Linked DNA regions of Homo sapiens: region 2 is linked to region 1. The links are contacts of gene promoters, found by promoter capture Hi-C in human tissues and cell types (Jung and others, 2019). All regions are on one chromosome and are shown on one strand. The core of a region is centred on a gene start or on the middle of the fragment in contact, and the rest is flanking DNA. Distances in the headings are between cores, read along the strand shown. Region 1 holds the start of COL25A1 (collagen type XXV alpha 1 chain). Region 2 overlaps COL25A1 (collagen type XXV alpha 1 chain).

What was found. Contacts are between HindIII fragments. The study calls those that stand out against the background at their distance.
Region 2: a contact is called between a fragment that was not itself captured here and the fragment with the promoter of COL25A1 in region 1, in 1 of the 25 tissues and cell types used here (dorsolateral prefrontal cortex).

The regions. Positions count from the first base shown.
Region 1 is chr4:109,300,938-109,304,257 of GRCh38, forward strand. COL25A1 (collagen type XXV alpha 1 chain) reads right to left here and starts at 1,721. Exons shown (of 38, transcript NM_198721.4): 1 at 1,232-1,721; 2 at 786-1,138. The coding sequence starts at 1,082. It overlaps COL25A1-DT (COL25A1 divergent transcript), which reads left to right and starts at 2,098. Exons shown (of 3, transcript NR_160939.1): 1 at 2,098-2,390. RefSeq lists an enhancer at 1,793-2,575. The HindIII fragment of the contact is 11,543 bases long and covers 1-3,320 here.
Region 2 is chr4:108,913,056-108,916,133 of GRCh38, forward strand. All of the region lies in intron 13 of COL25A1 (collagen type XXV alpha 1 chain), which reads right to left. Among named protein-coding and RNA genes, the nearest start is that of ETNPPL, 150 kb to the left of the region's middle. The HindIII fragment of the contact is 4,321 bases long and covers 1-3,078 here.

The sequences.
Region 1 (3,320 bases), core at 471-2,970:
AACCTAGCACTAAAATGTTGCAGTATTAGGTAAGCTGTGGCTTACCAATAACAGCCAATATTTTATACATGAAGGTCAACTGCTTTATTTATCATGCTAGGCTGCAACTACTGCCAAATAGGCTCCCGGCTAGGGTAAGGTTCCAGAAAACCCCCTTACTCTAGTCTAAAGGTACCCTTACACATAACATAGATTCCTCTCAACTCTCAATTCCAAGGGCTCTGCATTCATAAATACCCCGGCACTGCATCCTTTACCAAAAATAAAGCTACTTTAAAAAAAAAAAGTTTAAACTTTTAATATGAAAAGATTCAACGTGTGAAATTATTGATTTTAAATTATATATGACATTATTTTACATTTAAGAGTGATTACCTTTTTTATATATTAATAACATCTATGACCCTAACCATCTTACAACATGTAAAAGATTTAACAGATGCTATCTCTGCAAGAAATATTCTCTCCACAATTGGGTTTGACTTAGGACAACTAAAAAGAGATAAAATGCCCTTTCCGAACCCTTTTAGACCTTCCTATGTGTTTAACACGCAAACATTAAGAGAGAGTGAGGGAAGATTAGAGATAGGGATGGGGACATCAAGGGATGTGCACATATAAATATATGCTACAGTGAGCATAGATCCTTGGCCAACACATGCACGCGCGCGCACACACACAGCCACACCAAGTATGGGTACAGTAAGGGTAGCGGCTAGTCATGCACACAGAGTCACGCTTGTACAAGATGTTACCCACGTGCAAAATACCCCAGCCTCTCACACCTGAGCCAGAAGTCGCTCCACTTTCTCTTGCACCATAGTCTTGAGGTGATCCAGGGTATCAGGCAGCAGATGAATGGAAGGGGCCCCTTTGGCGGATTCGAGAGCGGCGATCCTCGCCTGGAGGTCGTTGGTTTTCACACCCAGGTACAGGCAAGACACCACGGCCACCACTGACAGGAGGGCCGCCAGGACGGCACACGGGGGCATGGTCCGGGCACAATGCTGTTCGGCAGGGGTCGGGTCCTCGGATCTGGGCTCCCGGCCCCCTCCTTTCCCTGCGTGCTTCTTCAGCAGCATCGTGGCGGGGTCGGCCGTCTCGGCTTCGCTTCCCACCCTCTACACCTCAAATAATCCTAAAAGGAAAGAAAAAGGTCGATTCCTCCAAAGTTCAGTCCCTGTGGCTGCACAACTAGTTGGTGGAGTCAAGCCCACGAGCGGATACGGACCCCTGCCTTGCTCAGCGTCCAGACCCGCAGGCGTGCACCATCCCCGCTTTCTTCTCTCCTCCCAGCTGGAAGTGAAAAGCACCCTCCGTCCGGGGACTGGGTGGCGGTGGGGTAAAAAGCAAGACGAAACCCACCCAGACAGCTCTTCCGACTCCCAGAGGACCGACACCTCTTTCGAGGGCCCCAACAGTGGCCGCTCAGGGTCCGAGGGCAACGGCCGAGGCGCCACGCGGGGCCGCGGCTCGCCCTGGCCACGGAGGACCGGACCTGTTGCGCCTCTGTGAGTTTGCCTTATTTCTACCTACTCGGTGTCTTTCGGCACGCCGACCTGTTTCCCACCTGCATTCAGTTCAAGGCAAAAAGGCTGTGAGAGCACGCTACAGCGCAGCGCGAAAGGGGCGACTAAGGTGGAGAAGAGAGAGGAAAACGAAATAAACCCAAGGAACCAATGCTACTCGCGAAGCCGAAGTCGCGGCTGCCCGAAGGATCTCCGCAGCCCCGCGTGCGCGATCCTTAAATACCCTTCGCGATGCTCGCGTGAGTGTGTGTGTGAGTGTGTGAGTGCGCGCGCGCTCCGAGCACGACGTCCCTCCCCCGACCCCCTCCCGGCGCCCGGCGTCCGGCCTGCCGCTCCCGCTGCTGCGCGCCCCCCTTCCGAAGGCAAAGCAGGAGCCCGCCTTATTATCATAATGTATTCACCTTGGCCCAGCCCGCGGGCCGGCCCGGGGAACCCCCAAGGGAGGCGGGAAGCTTGGGTGGGAGCGGGGCAGGAGGTCTGTTATTAGCATAATGTATGCAAATAGCTGGAGCGGCCACCGTGATTGGAGAGGAGCCTGGCGACCCCTCCCCCTGCGCGGAGTAACTTCAGCATCTCCGAGGGCCACCTCTCTGGCCTGGGCCGGGGCCGAAGCGGGGTCGGCTGCGCAAGAGGCGGCAACTTTGGCTTATACTGACTCAGCCCAGCGCCCCCTTTTTATCCCACATAAAAATGGAGAAATGGCCTCCGGGAGGAAGATGTGAAGCGGCACGCTCTATCTCTACTGATCTTCACTCAAAAGCAGCCGCAGGAGCTGTTGCTATCTCGCTGTGGTGCAGCGCTTTTCCCTCCTCCCTCACTTTCCCACATGCCCAGAGGCAAAGTGTCTGGCCGACGTCTGAGGTACATTTCCCCACTTCCCTTCTCTTCCCACTGCAGCCCTCAGATTGTCCAACGAGGGGAAGTTTTCCTTCCCCTCCCCCAGTTTCCTTGTCTTGACGGCACTGAGTCTCCTCCCAGCTCTGTATTCCTAGTCTGTACTAGGGTGCTAATGTGTTTTCCTGATTCCCTGTTTTGCGGGATTGGAAAAGGGAGTGTTGAGGTATACACATTTCTCAGGATTTAGGAAAGGAATGAAGAATGAAGTCAGTTTTTCCTTTTACCTGACTCTTAATGCTGTTCTCTCTGGATCAAATTACAAGGTCTCTAATGGGATTTTGGAAAGTTGGTAACAAGTAGCATTTGACATCTAATTGACTTTGGGGAAAACAGAAATCCCACCTCTTATTCCAAAGAGTTCCTTCTTATCTCCCTATAAAAAAAAAAACCATATATTTTTCCTATTCTCCTTAATTAAGCTAACCTGAAGTCGTTGCTTACTATTGTAAACAGTCAACAAAATACTTCACTAAGTTGGTCTTTCACATGTGTAAACGGATATTGCTAGGTGTGAAGCAAGGTAAGGAAATAACAGCATTAGAGGAAGAAAGAGACTAACATTGGAGGAAAACTCAATGAATTTGGCTATAAAGTCAAAACCATAATTCATTTGTATTACACAGTGGTTCTCAAAGGATGGTCCTAGACCAATAACATCAGCATCACCTGAGAACTTGGACATTAAAATTCTAGGTTCCTACCACAGATCTGAATCAGAAACTGCTACTACCACTACTGAAATAATAATTTTAAAAAAAACAGCAATCTGTGTTTTAACAAGCCCTCCAAATGATTTTGATATATACTACTAAAGTTTGAGAACCACTGGTATAATACTTTCCAAAATATTTTCAAATACTTTTTGTATTTGAACCTCATAACCCTGCGATGTGA
Region 2 (3,078 bases), core at 59-2,558, 390 kb before region 1:
TCAAGATCATCTGATATTTATCTTTTTTTTTGGAAACAATCCCTATGACTCTGCAGGCCTCAGAAAAATTCTAGCTTGCATAGACAAAAAAAATTTCATTTTAATCCTGAAAATATTCAACATTATTTTTATAGTAATCAAGAGACAAGGATGTGAATTAAGAGGAGCAAAAAATGGGACTTTGTGTGGTCTCTGTCTCTAGCTCCTTTTTTTTTTTTTTTTTTTTTTAAGACGGAGTTTTGCTCTTGTTGCCCAGGCTGGAGTGAAATGGCATGATCTTGGCTCACTTGCAACCTCCGCCTCCAGGGTTCTCCTACCTCAGCATCCCAAGTAGCTGGGATTACAGGCATGCACCACCATGCCCCGCTGATTTTGTATTTTTAGTACAGACGGGGTTTCCCCATGTTGGTCAGGCTGGTCTCGAACTCCCGACCTCAGGTGATCCACCCACCTCGGCCTCCCAAACTGTTGGGATTATAGGCGTGAGACACCGCACCCGACCTCCAGCTCCTCTTTCATGGCATTTGCACAGTGTTGGGCACTAACTGCTATTCAAATAAATTGTCATAGTGATTATTTGTTCTTATGGATGCTAAGAAAGATGAAAATCAGGAAAAAGTAGAAAAATGCAGAGTTTTAATAACACCTTTTAACAGTTCAGATTTTTAAAAACCAACATCTAAGTATATAAACAAAAATTGTAGACAGCAATCTATTTTGCCAAAAAATTATTCACTATAAACATGGTTCTACTATAAAATTATTTTAAATAGCTCACATTTCTCCAGAGTATTTGAAGTAGGAACTAATTGACCAATATTCAAATATACATCACTTCATGTATGTGTGAGTGTGCGTTTGCGTGCATGCACTCATGCACACGCGCATGGTGGGGGAAAGAATAAATTATGGAGGGCAAATAAAATGTTAATTATATGTTTAAACCAACAAGATCTTCAGGAGAATTACATTATTTTTGTGTTCAATATAATTAGCCAAAGAAGAAATAGATAACATTTTATATTTTTAGGTAGGATTTGCTTTAGATCTGCCCTAACTGCTTGGTTGGTGGAAACAAGTCCAAATTATGAAAACATCAGCTTTCAGAATTGGGAACAGAGGATGCTAAAAGCTGGTTGCATGGAAACAAGACATGGGGGATGGGGGACTTTTTGTGTACTCATAGTATCTCTGAGAAACTTAGAGATAAATTGGTACAGCTTCTGCTCTCATTTTACAAATGAAGTCCCTTTGAATGCAGAGAAAAAAGGGATCCTTCAAAGGCTACACAAGAGGTGAAAGAGCACAGAGTGTTCTGATGCCAGGACAGGGCTCCTACATCAGCCCACTGGTGACTGTGCTTTCATAATAATGTGAAACATGTGTTTCTCTTTCTTGTATCTATAGCAGTGACATTCCAACTACCCAGTCTTTAAGAGCTGGGGACCTTAGTCCTTAGGGTCAGGGAGACAGCCAGGGGATAGAGAACACATTCTACCTCTATGTGTATTTCTGCATATTCATTTTCTTTCTATGAGGAATTCACCTGGCTTTTCCTCCCTGCTTGAATGTAAGTCTAAGGTTCATTTGCTGAAACTTTTTTTTTTTTTTTTTTTTTTGAGACAGGGTCTCACTATGTTGCCCACGCTGGAGTGCAGTGGCATGATCACGGCTCACTGTAACCTTGAACTGGGCTTAAGTGATCCTCCCACCTTGGCCTCCCAAAGCGTTGGGATTACAAGCATGAGCCACTGCGCCCAGCCTGCTGAAATTCTTAAGGCATGAGAATACTACTAGAGACACTTGACAGCATTTATTGGGCATCTATTACATAATATTCACTTTAGATATATTGTCTAATTAATACTACAAGGTCTGTCTCTATATTGTACACTGGAACCTTAGAAAGTTAAGTGATTGGCCCAAATGAGGACACATAGCATTCTCTCTCAGATGCAGAGACCACGCCCTTTTCTCTGTACCACACTACCTCCTACTTTTCACAAAGGGATGTTCTGTAGCCCTTCATAGGTTGTGATGCCAGAAGGGGCAAGATTGGAGTCTAATGCCATGCCACTGCATAAGCAGTCCTTTCTCCTAATACAGTCAGAAGAACTGAAAGACCATTACAAAAATAAGTATTCAGATTAGCAATCAAGGTGATCAAAATGTAAAAGATAATGTGTAGGAAAAACGTCACACCAAGTTTATGTGCTAAGGCCATCACCTATTTTGCCAACCTGAATGGATGGACAATGTTCTATGGGAAACAAAGCATTTTTGTCTTCTTTTTCTCTTTCTCTCTCTCTCCCTTTCTTTTTTATAAATAGAGACAGGGTTTCACCATGTTGCCCAGGTTGGTCTCAAGCTCCTGAGCTTAGGCAATCCTCCTGCCTTAGCCTCTAAAAATGCTGGGATTATTGGCATGGGCCACCTTTCCTGGCCAGTGTTTTCTTAAAATAGTATACTTTTCTTTCTTTTTTTCAAACATAAGAAAATAATTTTTTATTCCCTAGTTTTTATTTGCCATATTTCTTACTTTTTTCTTTTTAAGAGATAGGATAGGATCTCACTATGGTGCCCAAGCTGGACTCAAGCAATCCTTCTGCCTGAGCGCCCCCACCCCAAGTAGCTGGATATTATTTGCCATATTTCTGATGGCTTAGAAATTATATCCTCCCCTAACCACTGTCTGAAAACTTTTCTAAGCATCAAAAGTAATCTTTTGGAAAAAGCAAAATTGTAATGGAGAAGAAAATGTTTTCTCAAGACAGTTTAAGGATATTGAGGTGCTCTTACTAAAACAAAATTATTATGTCATTGTAAGCTCCTTTCTTAGAAAAACAAATTCTAGAGTTCAAGATTCCAGAAAAACAAAGTCTAGAGTTCAAGAAATTTGTTTAAAAACAAATTCTAGAGTTCATTTCATGTGCTCTAAGTATGTAAAATTATTACTCTATTGCCAACTTTGTTTTTACTCTCTAAGTGACCTGCTGTTTCAGTGAAGGAGACTCGTGTTTTTTACACTTTCTTTTCCTAAAAATGATATAGCAAATATTACAAATGTTAAGTAATTAC